Regions from separate parts of the Homo sapiens genome. Here all the other regions are linked to region 1. The links are contacts of gene promoters, found by promoter capture Hi-C in blood cells and fetal thymus (Javierre and others, 2016). All regions are on one chromosome and are shown on one strand. Each heading gives the region's core, a stretch centred on a gene start or on the middle of the fragment in contact. The rest is flanking DNA. Distances are from core to core; before and after follow the strand shown.

Region 1 (2,898 bases), core at 117-2,616:
CTTGCATATCACTCTTTTCTTAGCATTGCCTATTCCAAAGAAAAATAGAGAAAATAATTCTGTCCTCTACTTTACTTACAGACCTTCATCAATTTGTAATACACTTATTTGCTTGGTTACATGACAGCCTCCTCCACTAGTTTACAACCTCCCTAAGAACAGCCCTAGGCTGAATTTTTTTACTATGCCTTAATTAACCATTCAGACACTCATCCATTTACAGGATACACCAATAAATGAAGGATACATTTAAACACGGCACAGAATACAATCAGAACTACCAAAATGTATAACTTTCTGAAAGAACGAGTGACTGCGCAAAAAGACAATATAACGGATAAACAGTGTCTGCTAGTTTTAAAGAGACTAAAAGACATGAAACTTGGATACGTAATAGATCCCAAAACAATCAAAACCATATATTGGAACAAAGTGGAGAACTGTACCTTTTTACACAGGGTACATATTAACAACATTTTAAATTTTCTGGGGTAATAGTATTATGGTTTTAAAAGGACATGTCTTTATCCACAGGACACGTATTACCAAGCATTTAAACCTTAAGTGTCACGCCTGCAATGTTCAACTTACTTCAAAGCCTCCATTCCTTCTTCCTAAAAGCCCGTTTTGAAGCTCTGTGGGGAGGTACAGGCCTAGGAAGTTCAGATAAAAAGAATAGCTGAGTATTCTTGCTTTTCTTCAGTAGAAAGACTTCTGGTCTACAAACGTTTATATTCACATAGAGAAATAACCACACCCCAGATACCTAAAAAATAGCTTTATGTTTCTACCTGAATGTAGAGTGTCAAAAGTAAATACAGGATGCGCAAAGAGAAAAACAAATTCTCAGATAAAACAGGAGGAAGAAGCCCCCGAAACCAACTTTCACCCCAGTACTCACCGCGACGAGCTGGACTCGCCAGGTACGGGAGATTGGGGGGATGAAGGACCAGTCAACCTGATTCGAACGACGAAAACTCGTTGTTTCTGGAAAAAAAAAAGTCACAAAGAATTGCTTTGGAAGAGTTTGAAGCGGCAATCACCGTGTTTGCAAAAATCGTGAGGAAGCGCCCTTACGACAGATCCCGAAACGGCTCCTGGCCCAGGGCCGTCGCAGTGACAACTCGAGTGGCTTTTTGAACCTGGCGGCGCCAGGAGGACCCGCGCGGCCCCGGCGGACGCGAGCGGAGCAGGCAAGGTCTCTCTAAGGAGGCCCCTCGGCGGCCTGGGGCAAACCGGTACTTTCGCCACCCCTTCCACCGCTGGCTCCCACCCGTCATCCGACCTCGCCAAAGCTGTATTAAGCCCAAACGCCACCAGGAAGAAAACGGGTTTGGCGGCGCGGAGAAAGCGCCGGAAAACACAGCAGCGCTCCGTGACGTCACTTCCGCCTCCAGCCTCAAACCTGGAGGAGCGCTCGGGAACTGCAACCTCAGCCGAGCTGAACAACCTCAGGCAGAGAGATTCTGGTTTACTCCCCAGTGGCTACGGAGACGCCTTGGAGGCCTTGGAGTCTGCTCACCTTGAGGGATGGAGGCCAAAAGGGGCCCAGAGCACAAGGCTGAGGTTAGAACCAGCCCTGCGGACGGGGCTAACCTAGGGTGGGGTCGGTGGTGTTGGCAAAGTTAGAGGTGGGGGCTCCCCCACAGGATGTGCACAATGCTCACAAAAAGCTTTTATTCTCACCTCCTCCCACGTTCCTAGCACCCTCAAAATGATGCTTCCTTTGATAATCCTGCCAGTCCATGATATGGCCTATCTCCTCCATTCATTCAATCTAGTTTTAGTTTTTTATTTTGTTTTTGTTTGAGACAGGGTCTCACTGTGTAGTCCAGGCTGGCGTGCTGTGGGGCGAAACTCATGGGCTCACGCCATCATCCCGCCTCAGCCTCCCGAGTAGCTGGGTCTACAGGCGCAGGCCACCATGCCCGGCTAATTTTTTTTCCCCCAGAGTTGAGGTATGTTACCCAGGCTGATCTCAAACTCCTGGGCTCCAACAATCATCCCGCCTCAGCCTCCCAAAAGGCTGGGATTACAGGCGTGCACCACGGCGCCGGGCCCAATTCAACTTGAGGCCAATATTTCCCCTTATTTCATTTATCTGGACGCCATGCTAAATTCTAATAGTTGATTCCTTTGTGTATTCAATATGCTGATACTTTTTGTAAATGTTGATTTTTTTTTCTTTGACTAATATATTGTTTTCTGAGATCTTACAGTGAGTTCCAGGGCCTCGTTGTAAAATACCGCGTTGTAAAATAGCACTGATATCAGGCATTCACTTCTGCAGGAGTGATTCTAGTTTCTCCAGAAATCGTTTTTGCTGTGCTTTGTAGTGGGTGGCCTTTATGGAGTTAATAAAGTTATTTTGAACACTGTTTTACTAACATGAAGAACTGTTCATGTACATTATCAAATATTTTGTGAATCTACTGAACTGGTAACTATTTTGCAGTTAATTTTTCAACTCAAAAAGATTTTCTTTTTTAAGTTTCCTCTCTTGCATTAAGAAGTCTTCATAAACTCTAGATTACATATAGATTTCCTAATTTTCTTCTGCAGCATATTACTTTAAAAACATTGAAATCTTTCATACTCATGGAATGTGTTTCAGTATGTGGTGTGGGATAGTGGATACAATATCTCTTTCCTCCAGAAACACGGCCAATTATTGTAGTACCACATATTGATAAACTGTCCTTGATTTACTGATTTCAAATTCCATGTTTATTAAACTATAAATTCCTATGTATACCTGTATCTGATTCTAGACTCTATGCCAGTAATACATTTACTTATGCCAATATCAAGATCATAATCTTTTCATTCCAGTGGTTTTGTATCAACTAATAATATTCCGTGGTAATAATAATAATAATGGTAGCTTTTTTGTTTGTT
Region 2 (2,898 bases), core at 124-2,623, 370 kb after region 1:
CAATGGTGTGAACTCGGCTCACCGCAACCTCCGCCTCCCAGGTGCAGGCGATTCTCCTGCCTCAGCCTCCCGAGTAGCTGGGATTACAGACATGTGCCACCACGTCCGGCTAATTTTGTATTTTTAGTAGAGACGGGGTTTCTCCATGTTGGTCAGGCTGGTCTCGAACTCCCGACCTCAGGTGATCCGCCTGCCTCTGCCTCCCAGTGTTGGGATTACAGGCGTGAGCCACCGCGCTCGGCCATATGTGCAATTTATTACATGTTAATTATACCTCAGTGAAGCTGTAGGGGCTGGGCATGGTGAGTAGTTCACACCTGTAATCCCAGCACTTTGGGAGGCTGTGGCAGGCAGATCGCTTGAGCCCAAAACTTTGAGACCAGCCTGGGCAATATGGTGAGACCCCATCTCTACAAAAAAAGAAAAATTAGCTGGGCATGGTGGCATGTGCCTATAGTCCCAGGTACTTGTGTGGCTGAGAGGGTAAGGAACACTACAGCCCTGGAGGTCAAGGCTGAGATGAGCCATGATGCGCTCTGGCCTGGGCAACAAAGCAAGACCCTGTCTCGAAAAAAAATTTTTTCTTTTTTTCCTAAAGAATGTGTAGGCCAAGTTAACCCTCCAGACAGGTAAGAATGTGATATGTGTCATAGCCTGTAATTTATACAATAACATCAAGGCTGCTTTGGTCCAAGGGCAGGATCTATGGCGAGTATATGTTCTTACACAAGAACAGTAAATAAAGTAGAAATCCTGGCTGGGTGCAGTGGCTCATGCCTGTAATCCCGGCACTTTGGGAGGCCAAGGTGGGCGGATGGCTTGAGCCCAAGAGTTCAAGACCAGCCTGGGCAACATGACGAAACCCTATGTCTTAAAACAAAAAACAAAAAAAAACAAAAAACCACCAGGCATGGTAGTGTGCACCTGTAGTCTCAATTACTTGGGAGGCTGAGGTGGGAGGATTGCTTCAACCCAGGTGAGGGAGGTTACAGTGAGTCGAGATTGGGCCAGTGCACTCCAGCCTGAGGGACAGAATAAGACTCTGTCTCAAAAAAAAAAAAAAAAAAGTAGGTGGGGCACAGTGGCTCATGCCTGTAATCCCAGCACTTTGGGAGGCCAAGGTGGGTGGATCACCTGAGGTCAGGAGTTTGAGACCAGCCTGACCAACATGGTGATACCCCATTTCTATTAAATACAAAAAATTAGCTGGGTATGGTGGTGGGCACCTGTAATCCCAGCTACTCAGAAGGCTGTGGCAGGAATCTCTTGAACCTTGGGGGCAGAGGTTGCAGTGAGCTAAGATTGCACCATTGCACTCCAACCTGGGCTACAAAAACAAAAACTCCGTCTCAAAAAAAAAAAAAAATCTAGAAATGTTGGAGTTGTTCTCAGGACTTGGGTTAAGCAGAAGTCAAGATGGCAGTTGGCATCCAAGATGGAGTCATGATTGCCTTCACAGCCCCTAATAGGGCCCAGTTACTGGGCCTCCCTTCAGATACTATTGCATGGCAGCATGGCAGCTTTATATCCTGGGCAAGATTGTGGAGTAAAATTACTCAGGTTCTACTTTACCAGCTATGTTGCTTTGGGCAACTTAACTTCTCTGTGCCTCAGTGTCTTCATCTCTACCTCCCTCAGTGGGCTGCTTATAGGAGTCCATGCATGAAGGACTGAGCACAGTGCCTGCCACATAAGAAGCACTCAGTAGGCTGGGTGTGGTGGCTCACGCCTGTAATCTCACCACTTCGGGAGGCTGAGGCAGGAGGATCGCTTGAGCCAAGCAGTTTGAGACCAACCTGGGCAACACAGTGAGACCACGTCTTTACAAAATAATAATAATAATAATTCTTTTTAAAAATTAGCCAGGTGTGGTGGTGCATGCCTGTATTCCCAGCTGCTGGGGAGGATGAGGTGGGAAGATTGCTTGAACCCAGGAGTTCGAGGCTGCAGTGAGCTACAGTCACACCACTGCACTCCAGCTTGGGTGATGGAGTAAGACCATGTCTCAAAATAAATAAATAAAAATAAAATAATAATGTCAGCTATTGTGATTATGCTTTGCCTTCATTGGAGGGCAGTCCTGAAGCCCCCAGCCCCTTATCTGGGAGAAGGCAATGATTAGGGGTGGGGAGGTTCCAAAAGGGGAGAAGCTCTGTCTGATGTCCCATCACCCCATCACCCCTTGGGGCAAGGCCCATGTTAGAGGTCACTAAGGCAGAATGAATTCTCCATAGGGTAAGCCCAGGAAGAAGACACCTGTAACCAGTGGTATGCCACAGCTCAGGAGAGCCAAATGCTGAATCTTCAACTATTTTGTGAGCCAGTTGTTAAACTGTTGGTAGCTTGAAACCAGCTGTGGTGAGACAGTGTTTACACCATAGTAATCTGCAAATGCTACAGATCAGGGCCTTCTTCCCCCACCTGCTAGCACTGCCTGTAAACACTTACCTGCTTCAAAATTAATGCCTGCTGGCCAGTTGCAGCGGCTCACACCTGTAATCCCAGCACTTTGGGACGCTAAAGCAGGCGGATCACTTAAGGCCAGGAGTTTGAGACCAGCCTGGCCAACATGGTGAAACCCCATCTCCTAAAAATATAAAAATTGGCTGGGTGTGGTGGCATGTGCCTGTAATCCCAGGTACTCAGGAGGCTGAGGCAGGCTGCAGCATAAACCTTGGAGGCAGAGGTTGCAGTGAGCTGAGATCGCACCATTGCACTCCAGCTTAGGTGACAGAGTGAGACTAGCATCTCCAAAAAACAAACAAAAAAACTAAAACGAATGCCTGCTGCTCCCTCCCTTCCAACTGGAAAGGCAGAGAGGAAAAAGAAAGGAAGCTTTTTTGCCCTAGAGTTGTTCCAGGTTGGGGCATCGGCAATGCACTTCCAGAACCACCTGCA
Region 3 (2,898 bases), core at 108-2,607, 300 kb before region 1:
AAGAATGTCTTAGGGCTGAGCAAAGAAGGCATGTGCTCAAAATCCCACTGAGGGTTCTCCTAGTGTAATAAGGTACAGAAAAGAAAGAACTGGGCTTGACACAGTGGCTCAAGCCTGTAATCCCAGCACTTTGGAAGGCCGAGGTGGGAGGATCACTTGAGCCCAGGAGTTTGAGACCAGCCTGGGTTGTGTGTCTGTACTCTATCTAGCCTGGGTGACAGAGCAAGATGCTGTCTCAGAGAAAAGAAAAAGAAAAAAGAAAAAGCCAGGCGCAGTGGCTCGCGCCTGTAATCCTAGCATTTTGGGAGGTAGAGGCAGGCAGATCACTTCAGCCCAGGAGTTAGAGACCAGCCTGGGCAACATGGTGAAACCCCATCTCTACAAAAAATACAAAAACTAGTCAGGCATGGTGGCATGCACCTATAGTCCTAGCTACTCAGGAGGCTGAGGTAGGAGGATCACCTGAGCTCAGGAGGTCGAGGTTGTTGTGAGCCGTGATTGAGCCACTGTACTCCAGTCTGGGTGACAGAGTGAGATCCTGTCTCAAAATAAAGTAAGAAAGAAAGAAGCTAAACAAACATCAGTATGGGGATAGATACACAAATTATGGCACTATTATTACATGTAATAATAGTGTTAAACTAAGCATAGTGAATGCCCACCAATTTCAGAGAGTGGTGGTCCCCAGGAAGGGAAGGAGAGGAATAAAAACAAATCAAGAGGACTTCATGTTTAAGTGTTATACTTTATTGTTATTATTATTATATTTAGTATTTTAAATCTATTTTTAAAATTAAAAAAAATTTTTTTTTTTTGCAGAGATGAGCTCTTGCTATGTTGCCCAGGCTATGTTGCTATGTTGCCCATGCCTGTAAGCCCAAAGTGCTAGGATTACAGGCATGAACCACCACATCTGGCCTGTTTTGGGGTTTTAAAAGAGAAACCGAAAGACTGGAAATGTAAGTGAGTGGGTCTCAACTTCCTCTTCTGGAGTTTCTCACTGTCAAGAGATGGGGACAAGAGTCAAGTTATTTAAGGGTGAAATCTGGCAACAGACATGGTGAAGATTGAAAAGCCAGACACATCTCATCAAAGCCCCATCTGCAGTCAAAAGAATGAGGAAAACCATGGGGCCAGGCATGGTGGCTCATGTCTGTAATTCCAGCACTTTGGGAGGCCAAAGTGGGCGGATCACGAGGTCAAGAGATCAAGACCATCCTGGCCAACTTGGTGAAACCCCATCTCTACTAAAAATACAAAAGTTAGCCAGGCATGGTGGTGGGCGCCTGTAATCCCAGCTACTCAAAAGGCTGAGGCAGGAGAATCGCTGGAACCCAGGAGGCGGAGGTTGCAGTGAACTGAGATGGAGCCACTGCACTCCAGCCTGGTGACAGAGCGAGACTCCTTCTCAAAAAATAAAAAAAAGAATGTGGAAAACCAGAGAACTGTAGATTCCTTTTGTTTATTTGTTTGTTTTATGAGACAGAGTCTTGCTCTGTCACCAGGCTGGAATGCAGTGGTGCCATCTCAGCTCACTGCAACCTCTGCCTCCCGGGTTCAAGCGATTCTCCTGCCTCAGCCTCCTGAGTAGCTGGGATTACAGGTGCATGCCACCATGCCCGGCTAAATTTTTGTATTTTTAGTAGAGATGGGGTTTCACCATGTTGGCCAGGCTGGTCTTGAACTCCTGACCTCAGGTGATTGATCCGCCTTGGTTCCCAAAGTGCTGGGACTACATGCGTGAGCCACCGCACTTGGCCAGATTCCTTTTTGAAGGGACTAATTCATACTTAGGTAGGGAAGGAGTCCCTAGGATTTAGAAGACAGAATGAGAGCTGAAAATAATGAAATCTGATTATAAATTGTAAGAAAACAGGGGAAGTAAATATATCATGAAAAGGGTCACCGATTAGTTTGGAATCTCACTTATAACAATTCTGCTGAATTGTCTCTTACTTTATGGTTGTCCTCCAGATAAGATGGGAGAAAAAATAAAATAAAAAACTTGTTCAGTTTCTCACAGCATTTATTGGGAGCATTTCAGATTACCTTGAAGGCATCAGTAAGGAATTCTCCATTTTTTTTCTTGGAGAATTGTAAGATGAAATGGAAGATCTATCCCCAAGAAGGGCAGATGAACCAAGTAAGGCAACCCACTCTTGGGCAAGAGGGATCATCTCTGGAGCAAGACTCAGGTGTGATGTTTCCTAACATGAGCGGGGCTGTTGAGTGGAGTGGTCACCGGTAGATTATTTGCAGTCTCTGTGGCCCCTAGGAGCTCAATTTTCAAAGCTGCTCATTAGCTAGATGTGTACAGTACTGTCATTTCTTCCCCTAAGGCAGCTCAAATCCTTAATGAGCACAGGTCAGACGTGAGCACAAAGGGGGAATTCCTGGATGGTTGACTTTCTGACCCCAAGGGACAAGCTGTATGTCATTCTCTTCCAACCACATTTCCTCTTATCCCGAGGGTATCTCATTCTTGGATCCTAGGATCGGACCCCTAGGGAGCTGGTGGAATCCTCCTTAGACAGAATCCCAGCTTTCTCTGAGTCAGAAATTGCTTTTTTTTTTTTTTTTTTTTTTCAAACCAAGTCTCACTCTGCGCCCTGGCTGGAGTGCAGTGGCGTGATCTCAGCTCACTGCAACCTCCGCCTCCCAGGTTCAAGCGATTCTCCTGCCTCAGCCTCCTGAGTAGAGTAGCTAGGATTACAGGCACACACGACACCTGGCAAATTTTTATATTTTCAGTAGAGACGAGGTTTCACCATGTTGGCCATGCTGGTCTCAAACTCCTGACTTCAAGTGATCCACACACCTCGGCCTCCCAAAGTGCTGGAACTATAGGCACGAGCCACCGCACCTGGCATCAGGTATTTCTTTATACCAACACAATAA
Region 4 (2,898 bases), core at 174-2,673, 290 kb before region 1:
ACCTCTTTTCTTATAAATTACCCAGTCTCAGGTATTTCTTTATAGCAGTGCGAGAATGGACTAATACACCATCACCCAGCACTGACAACCCCTGAAAGTGATAGAATCACTCAGGTGAGAACTTGGCCAGAAGCTCCACTCTGAGCTCTGGTTTGCATCGTTGCAAAACATCGACAAGGTTCCACAGACTGAATTGATGTGGGTGCGCTCTCTAAGCTCCAGCCCTCTGGACACTTTGTCCTTCATGGAGGGTGGTGGTGGATGTTGGCCCCAGGGTGTTGGGCTAAGCCATAGGGCTGTGTCCTAGTACCTGGATTACTGTTTAATTTCACAGGACCTTCTGAGGAGATCCCAGACCCCCTACATTCCATAGGCCCCTCCTTTATGGTCTCCCAAGGTCTGGGTGGCTGTCTCAGTATGAAGGCAAATGTAGATCAGCTTGCTCATCATCCATTCATTCTTTCATTCCCTACTTATTGTCTTATTTATATCAGGCACTGGAATGGTGAATGAAATATCATCAAAGTAAAAAGTCTCTACTCACCTGGAATGTATTTTCTAGTTGGGCATACAGGAAATCAAAACAAGTAAACTACATAGTGTGCATGGAGGAGACAGCAGAGAGATAATAATGCTTACCCGGTGTTCTGTGTCCTGTCCTACATTTCCCAGGATCCTTGGAGCTGGCAGGGGCATGTGACTAGTTCTGGCCAATGGGCTGCAAGTGCTTCAGGGTCAAAATATAGACGACAGAATGCATAGTTGTCCAGCTTCCTGCTCATCATCTATGACCAACATGGCCAAGGGTATCAGTTGGTTCAGAGACAAGTGGCATCCTTGAACAACAGGAAAACTTTTGACATCAGCCTGGGTTGAACAAGTGACATGAGCAAGGCGTAAACTTTCCATTTTATTGAGTCATTGAGATTTGGGTTTGTCTGTTTTTGCAGTAAAAAATAGAGCCTAATCTTACACAGAACATTACTTGGAAATTAGTGCTTTAGGGAAAAAGAAAAGGAGTGGAGAATTGGGATTGAAAGAAGCAGGGGTTTGCATTTTAAAAAGTGGCCAAGGCGGGTGGATCAGCTGAGGTCAGGAGCTCAGGACCAGCCTGGCCAACATGGTGAAACCCTGTCTCTACTAAAAGTACAAAAATTAGCCGGACACAGTGGCACACCTATAGTCCCAGCTACTTGGGAGCCTGAGGCGGGAGAATCACTTGAACCCGGGAGGCGCAGGTTGCAGTGAGCTGAGATCACACTACTGCACTCCAGCCTGGGTGACAGAGCGAGACTCCATCTCAAAAGAAAAGAAAAGAGTGGCCAGTGAATGCCAGATCAGGACAGGTAAAGTTGAATAAAGATCTGAAGGATGAGAGGGGGCCAGGCACACTGAGAATGTGGGGGAAACATTTCAAGCAGAGGAGCAGCAGGTGCACAGACCCTGAGGTGGGAGCATGGCTGGCGGGGCCTGATGCACAGCAGTGAGGCTTCTGTGGCTTGGGTGAGGGACCAGTGGCAGAGCGAGTTGTGGGTGAGGCGGCAGGGACCTGGGCCCTTGGTCTGAGTGAGATGGGACACCATCAGAGGATCTTGAACAGAGGAGCGGTGTGATCTTCATTTTACCCATAAAGTTACGGCTGTCATGGAAGCTAAGGGAAGTCAGGGACAGCAGCTGGGAGACCAGTTAGGAAGCAGTTGGAATGTTCTAGAAGAGAAGCGATGCCTTATGCCAAGGCAGTAGCAGTGTAGGTGGTGAGAAGCAACCAGATTTTTGTATTAAGTTTTAAAGTTAAGGCTGGCAGGATTTGCTGGTGATGCAGGTGTGGTTTATGGAAAAGAAAGAGGAGAGTTGAAGGTGATGACGAGCAAGGCTTTTGACTTGAGCCCCTGGGAGGCTGGAGCTGCCATCAACGTGGGGAGGCTGGTGGCAGCACAGTTGTAGGTGTTTAATGTGGGATCCTGTTGGCTGTTGCAGTAGGGATACTAAGTAGCCACCTGGCTGCCACTCACTCTGAGTCATTCTGGGTGGGGCAGGTGCCAGGGAGCGGAGAGTGGCACCCACTATAAATGAACAATTCTGTTAAGTAATTGTGAAATCGTCAGTGGTCATTTTATTTTAATGATAATGGCATTTTAGAGTGAATGTTTGTTTACTGAGCCTATAGAGTTCCATACATAACCCAGTGTTAAAGTCTTCAGTTTCCAGATGAGAAAACTGAGTTTTGATGAACTGACTCTTGGGAGGGGAATGAGCAGAACTGTGGGCTTGCATTAAAGGGGAGTCTACTGAGGCCTCAGGGACAGGGAGACCTTCACAGAAGTGCAATCAGAACCTGGGTGTCAGCACCTCCAAATGGTGGGGGTGTTTCACAATGTGGACCTGTGGGAGATGGGGGAGAGGGGCCCAGGGGAACCCTGACCTTTAGGGGCTGGGCAGAGGAGGGATCTCAAGCCAGAGTCTTCAAAAGAGCAACCAGAGATGTGAGCACAGACTGGGATGAGTGGGCTATGGCTGCAAGAGCAGTGGCATTCCCAGGAAGAGGGAGATAGATTCATAGTGAGCAAGATGATGTGTCAGGAGGTCAGGCAAAGGAAGGGTCAAGATGTAGTGTCAAGGAGTTCCCACATAGGGGACAGTACAGGTGACATAGGTCACTTTGAGAGGCAACAAGATGTGGCTCCGCAGTCACGTCAGCTGGGCTCACAACTTCCACCTATGACCTTGACCAAGTGTCTCGGACCCTTGGTGCCTTATTCTCTGGGTACTTGAGAATAATTCCGGGAGGTTGTGAGGATTAAATAGGAGTGGCCCTGGAAAGACTCAGGAGAATGTCTCATACCTTGTAAACACTACACATGTCGTTATTTGTAGAATTGGCATTAATGTTGGTGGGGA
Region 5 (2,898 bases), core at 202-2,701, 260 kb before region 1:
AAGTCAGTCACAAAAAGACAAACAGTGTATACTTCCGTCTATGAAGTAGGTACCACAGTCAGAATTATAGAGACAGAAAGTGGTATGGTGGTTCATTAGGGGCTGGGGAGGGTGAATGAGGGATGAGTGTTACGGGACAGAGTTTCAGCTTGGGGAGATGAGAAGATTCTGAATATGGAGGATAGTGATGGCTGCTGTGAATATACTTAATGCCACTGAATAGTACACTTAAAATGGTTAAGATGGTGAACTGTATGTTATGTATATTTTACCATCATTTTAAAAATTGAAAAAAACTTTTTTCTTATTGTTCAGTTCCTCCCAAACTTGCCATCAATGAAATTTTCCCCATCACTCTACCCAGATCGCTGTTTCTAATGTTTTCCATGCCATTAAATGTGATGGATATTCTTCAGCCTTTATTTTGCTTAGCCTTATAGCATCGTTTTACATGGTTGTTAGAAATAAATCTTGGAGTCATAAAGAAAAATGAGCACTCAAACAAAGGATTTCTCAGCAAAGCAAATTTACTTCTGCGCAGAAGGGTGCTTCTCGTAGGGTTGGCTGCTACAAGAGCACCCTGAACAAAGGAGAGTAGCAACTTTTATTCTTAATGCGACTCTTGACTTTGTGTGTCCTTTCCCCATTGGCTGGGGTCGGACAGCACAATCTAAACTAGACTTGATTGGTTACACATTTAAACTGTCTTAGATAAGGTGGGTGTGTGATGGGAGACAGAGGAGAGGAGGAAGGGGTCTTCTACAGAGGAATAGACAGCTAGTCTATTCTTAAATAAGGAAAGAAATGTGAGCTGGGGCTATGGCATATCTGGGCATGCAGCAAAATCAGAAAGAAGAAAAGGAGAAGAAAGTGTGTGGGGGGGGTACTTGGAATTAGAGAATAAGAAGCTGAGCAGGCTGTTTGAAGAGAAATCTTGCTGTATCTCGCAATGGTTGACTCTCCCTCTCTTGAAACAGGACTTACGACATGTCCACAGCCTGTTTAACGCCCTGCAGCCAACGCGATCACAGGGGATTCACGGAAATAGTTGCATCTCTATTTTCTTCTGTGTTACCTTGAGACCCTTAGGCACTGGGATTACAGAGAGATGGGTCTTTGTAGCTTCTGCGACACATTCCAGAGGGGAAAACCTCTTTATCTCAAAGCCAAACCAATAGTGATGAAAGCTCTTCCAAGAATAAAGAGGCCCCAAGAGGGTGGGAGGTGCAGAGAGAGTCACCTGGCTTCAGAGCTGCCTTCTTGGAAACAGAATTAGAACACATCATACCTTTCTGCCATTTGCTCTTGATCCCAAGGGAGCCGAATGGGTTGGAGAGTAGAACATCACTGGAACAGTGGATTTAATGAGGAAGGATGAGACATCAGCTCCCTGGGGCTTGAGAAACCATAAATACTTCCCTAAAACACCTCACCTGGACAGTTTCCTGACGCCACACTCATGCATCTTAGAGAGGAGAGTTAGGATGACTTCATGACAAGTTCCATCTCCCCGCCTTTCCCTGCTAGATTCTGTCTTCAGCATTCAACAGTCAGGGGAGGAAGACGTCATACCAGCATTTTTTTTTTTCAAGCAATGTCAGTTGAGTGACTCACACTATCCTTGTTAGTACCGTGTGTGAAAAGGATTTAAAAAGTAGTGTGGGGAGGAACAGAGATGGAGGTAACAGGGTTGATAATGTCTCATGATTTTTAAAATGTCTCTAGGATTCCCTTACCTGGTTATAGATGTCTTAAGGCATTGCAACTTTTGGGAGGCTGAGGCAGGCGGATCGCTTGAGGCCAGGAGTCTAAGACAAGCCTGGCCAACTTGGTGAAACCCCATCTCATCTAAAAATACAAAAATTAGCTGGGCATGGTGGCGGATGCCTGTAATCCCAGCTACTCGGGAGCCTGAGTCAGGAGAATGGCTTGAACCCGGGAGACAGAGGTTGCCATGAGCCAAGATCACGCCACTGCACTCCAGCCTGGGTGACAGAGTGAGTGAGACGCTGTCTCAAAAAAAAAAAAAGATTCTATTGCAACTGTTTCTGTCACCTCCACCTCTGATGGCCTTTCATTCTGGAAACTAGTGACTTTCTCAATGTCAGTAGGAACTGGCACTTCCTTGAGTGGATTCCTTTCAGTCTACCTGCTAACACCTTCCTTTTTCTTCTCTAGTATAATATAATAGTTCTCGGCCGGGTGCAGTGGCTCATGCCTATAATCCCAGAACTTTAGGAGGCCGAGGCGGGTGGATCACAAGGTCAAGAGATCGAGACCATCCTGGCCAACATGGTGAAACCCTGTCTCTACTAAAAATACAAAATTAGCCGGGCATGGTGGTGTGTGCCTGTAGTCCCAGCCATTTGGGAGGCTGAGGCAGGGGAATTTCTTGAACCTGGGAGGCAGAGGTTGCAGTGAGCTGAGATTGCACCATTGCACTTCAGCCTGGGCAACAAGAACAAAACTCCGTCTAAAAAAAAAAAAATCAACAAAGCAAAGCAAAACAAAACAAGTATGTATTAAATGTTCACTCTGCACCAGATGTTACATATATTATCATTGCAATTGTGAATGGACTTTTTTTCCTCTTATTTTTTCTCATGGCTGTTTGCAGATACATAAGAAAGCTGATGACACTGATTAGTTGTAATTAATTGTGTTTAAGTTGACTTTTTTTTTTTTTGAGACAGGGTCTTTCTGGGCTCAAGCAAACCTCCTGCCTTGGCCTCCCAAGTAGCTAATTTTTTAAAAATCTATTTTTGTAGAGGCAAGTGTCTCATTTTGTTGTCTAGGCTGGTCTCAAACTCCTGGCCTCAAGAATTTCTCCTGCCTTAGCCTCTCAAAGTGCTGGGATTACAGGCAGGAGTCACAGCACCCAGCCAGGCTGTTACATTT

What was found. The method cuts DNA at HindIII sites, captures the fragments that hold promoters and counts their contacts. A CHiCAGO score of 5 or more calls a contact.
Region 2: a fragment that was not itself captured here is called in contact with the fragment with the promoter of ZNF266 in region 1 in 1 of 17 cell types (fetal thymus); the score reaches 5.8 in fetal thymus.
Region 3: a fragment that was not itself captured here is called in contact with the fragment with the promoter of ZNF266 in region 1 in 1 of 17 cell types (megakaryocytes); the score reaches 5.0 in megakaryocytes.
Region 4: a contact is called between a fragment that was not itself captured here and the fragment with the promoter of ZNF266 in region 1, in 2 of 17 cell types (non-activated CD4 T cells and activated CD4 T cells). The highest score is 5.2, in non-activated CD4 T cells.
Region 5: the fragment with the promoter of OR7D2 here is called in contact with the fragment with the promoter of ZNF266 in region 1 in 4 of 17 cell types (naive CD8 T cells, neutrophils, activated CD4 T cells and 1 more); the score reaches 6.7 in naive CD8 T cells.

What each region holds. Positions count from the first base shown.
Region 1 is chr19:9,434,207-9,437,104 of GRCh38, forward strand. It overlaps ZNF266 (zinc finger protein 266), which reads right to left and starts at 1,367. Exons shown (of 11, transcript NM_001370374.1): 1 at 1,078-1,367; 2 at 902-987; 3 at 592-653; 4 at 1-29. It overlaps LOC105372269 (a long non-coding RNA gene), which reads left to right and starts at 1,435. Exons shown (of 3, transcript XR_007067133.1): 1 at 1,435-1,566. RefSeq lists an enhancer at 1,158-1,287. The HindIII fragment of the contact is 21,418 bases long and covers 1-1,671 here.
Region 2 is chr19:9,804,619-9,807,516 of GRCh38, forward strand. No RefSeq gene overlaps it. Among named protein-coding and RNA genes, the nearest start is that of FBXL12, 13 kb to the right of the region's middle. The HindIII fragment of the contact is 2,919 bases long and covers 1-2,833 here.
Region 3 is chr19:9,130,217-9,133,114 of GRCh38, forward strand. No RefSeq gene overlaps it. Among named protein-coding and RNA genes, the nearest start is that of OR7G3, 4.7 kb to the left of the region's middle. The HindIII fragment of the contact is 4,665 bases long and covers 1-2,898 here.
Region 4 is chr19:9,148,170-9,151,067 of GRCh38, forward strand. All of the region lies in intron 1 of ZNF317 (zinc finger protein 317), which reads left to right. Among named protein-coding and RNA genes, the nearest start is that of ZNF317, 9.2 kb to the left of the region's middle. The HindIII fragment of the contact is 2,994 bases long and covers 1-2,898 here.
Region 5 is chr19:9,177,528-9,180,425 of GRCh38, forward strand. It overlaps OR7D2 (olfactory receptor family 7 subfamily D member 2), which reads left to right and starts at 1,452. Exons shown (of 3, transcript NM_175883.4): 1 at 1,452-1,596. The HindIII fragment of the contact is 28,883 bases long and covers 1-2,898 here.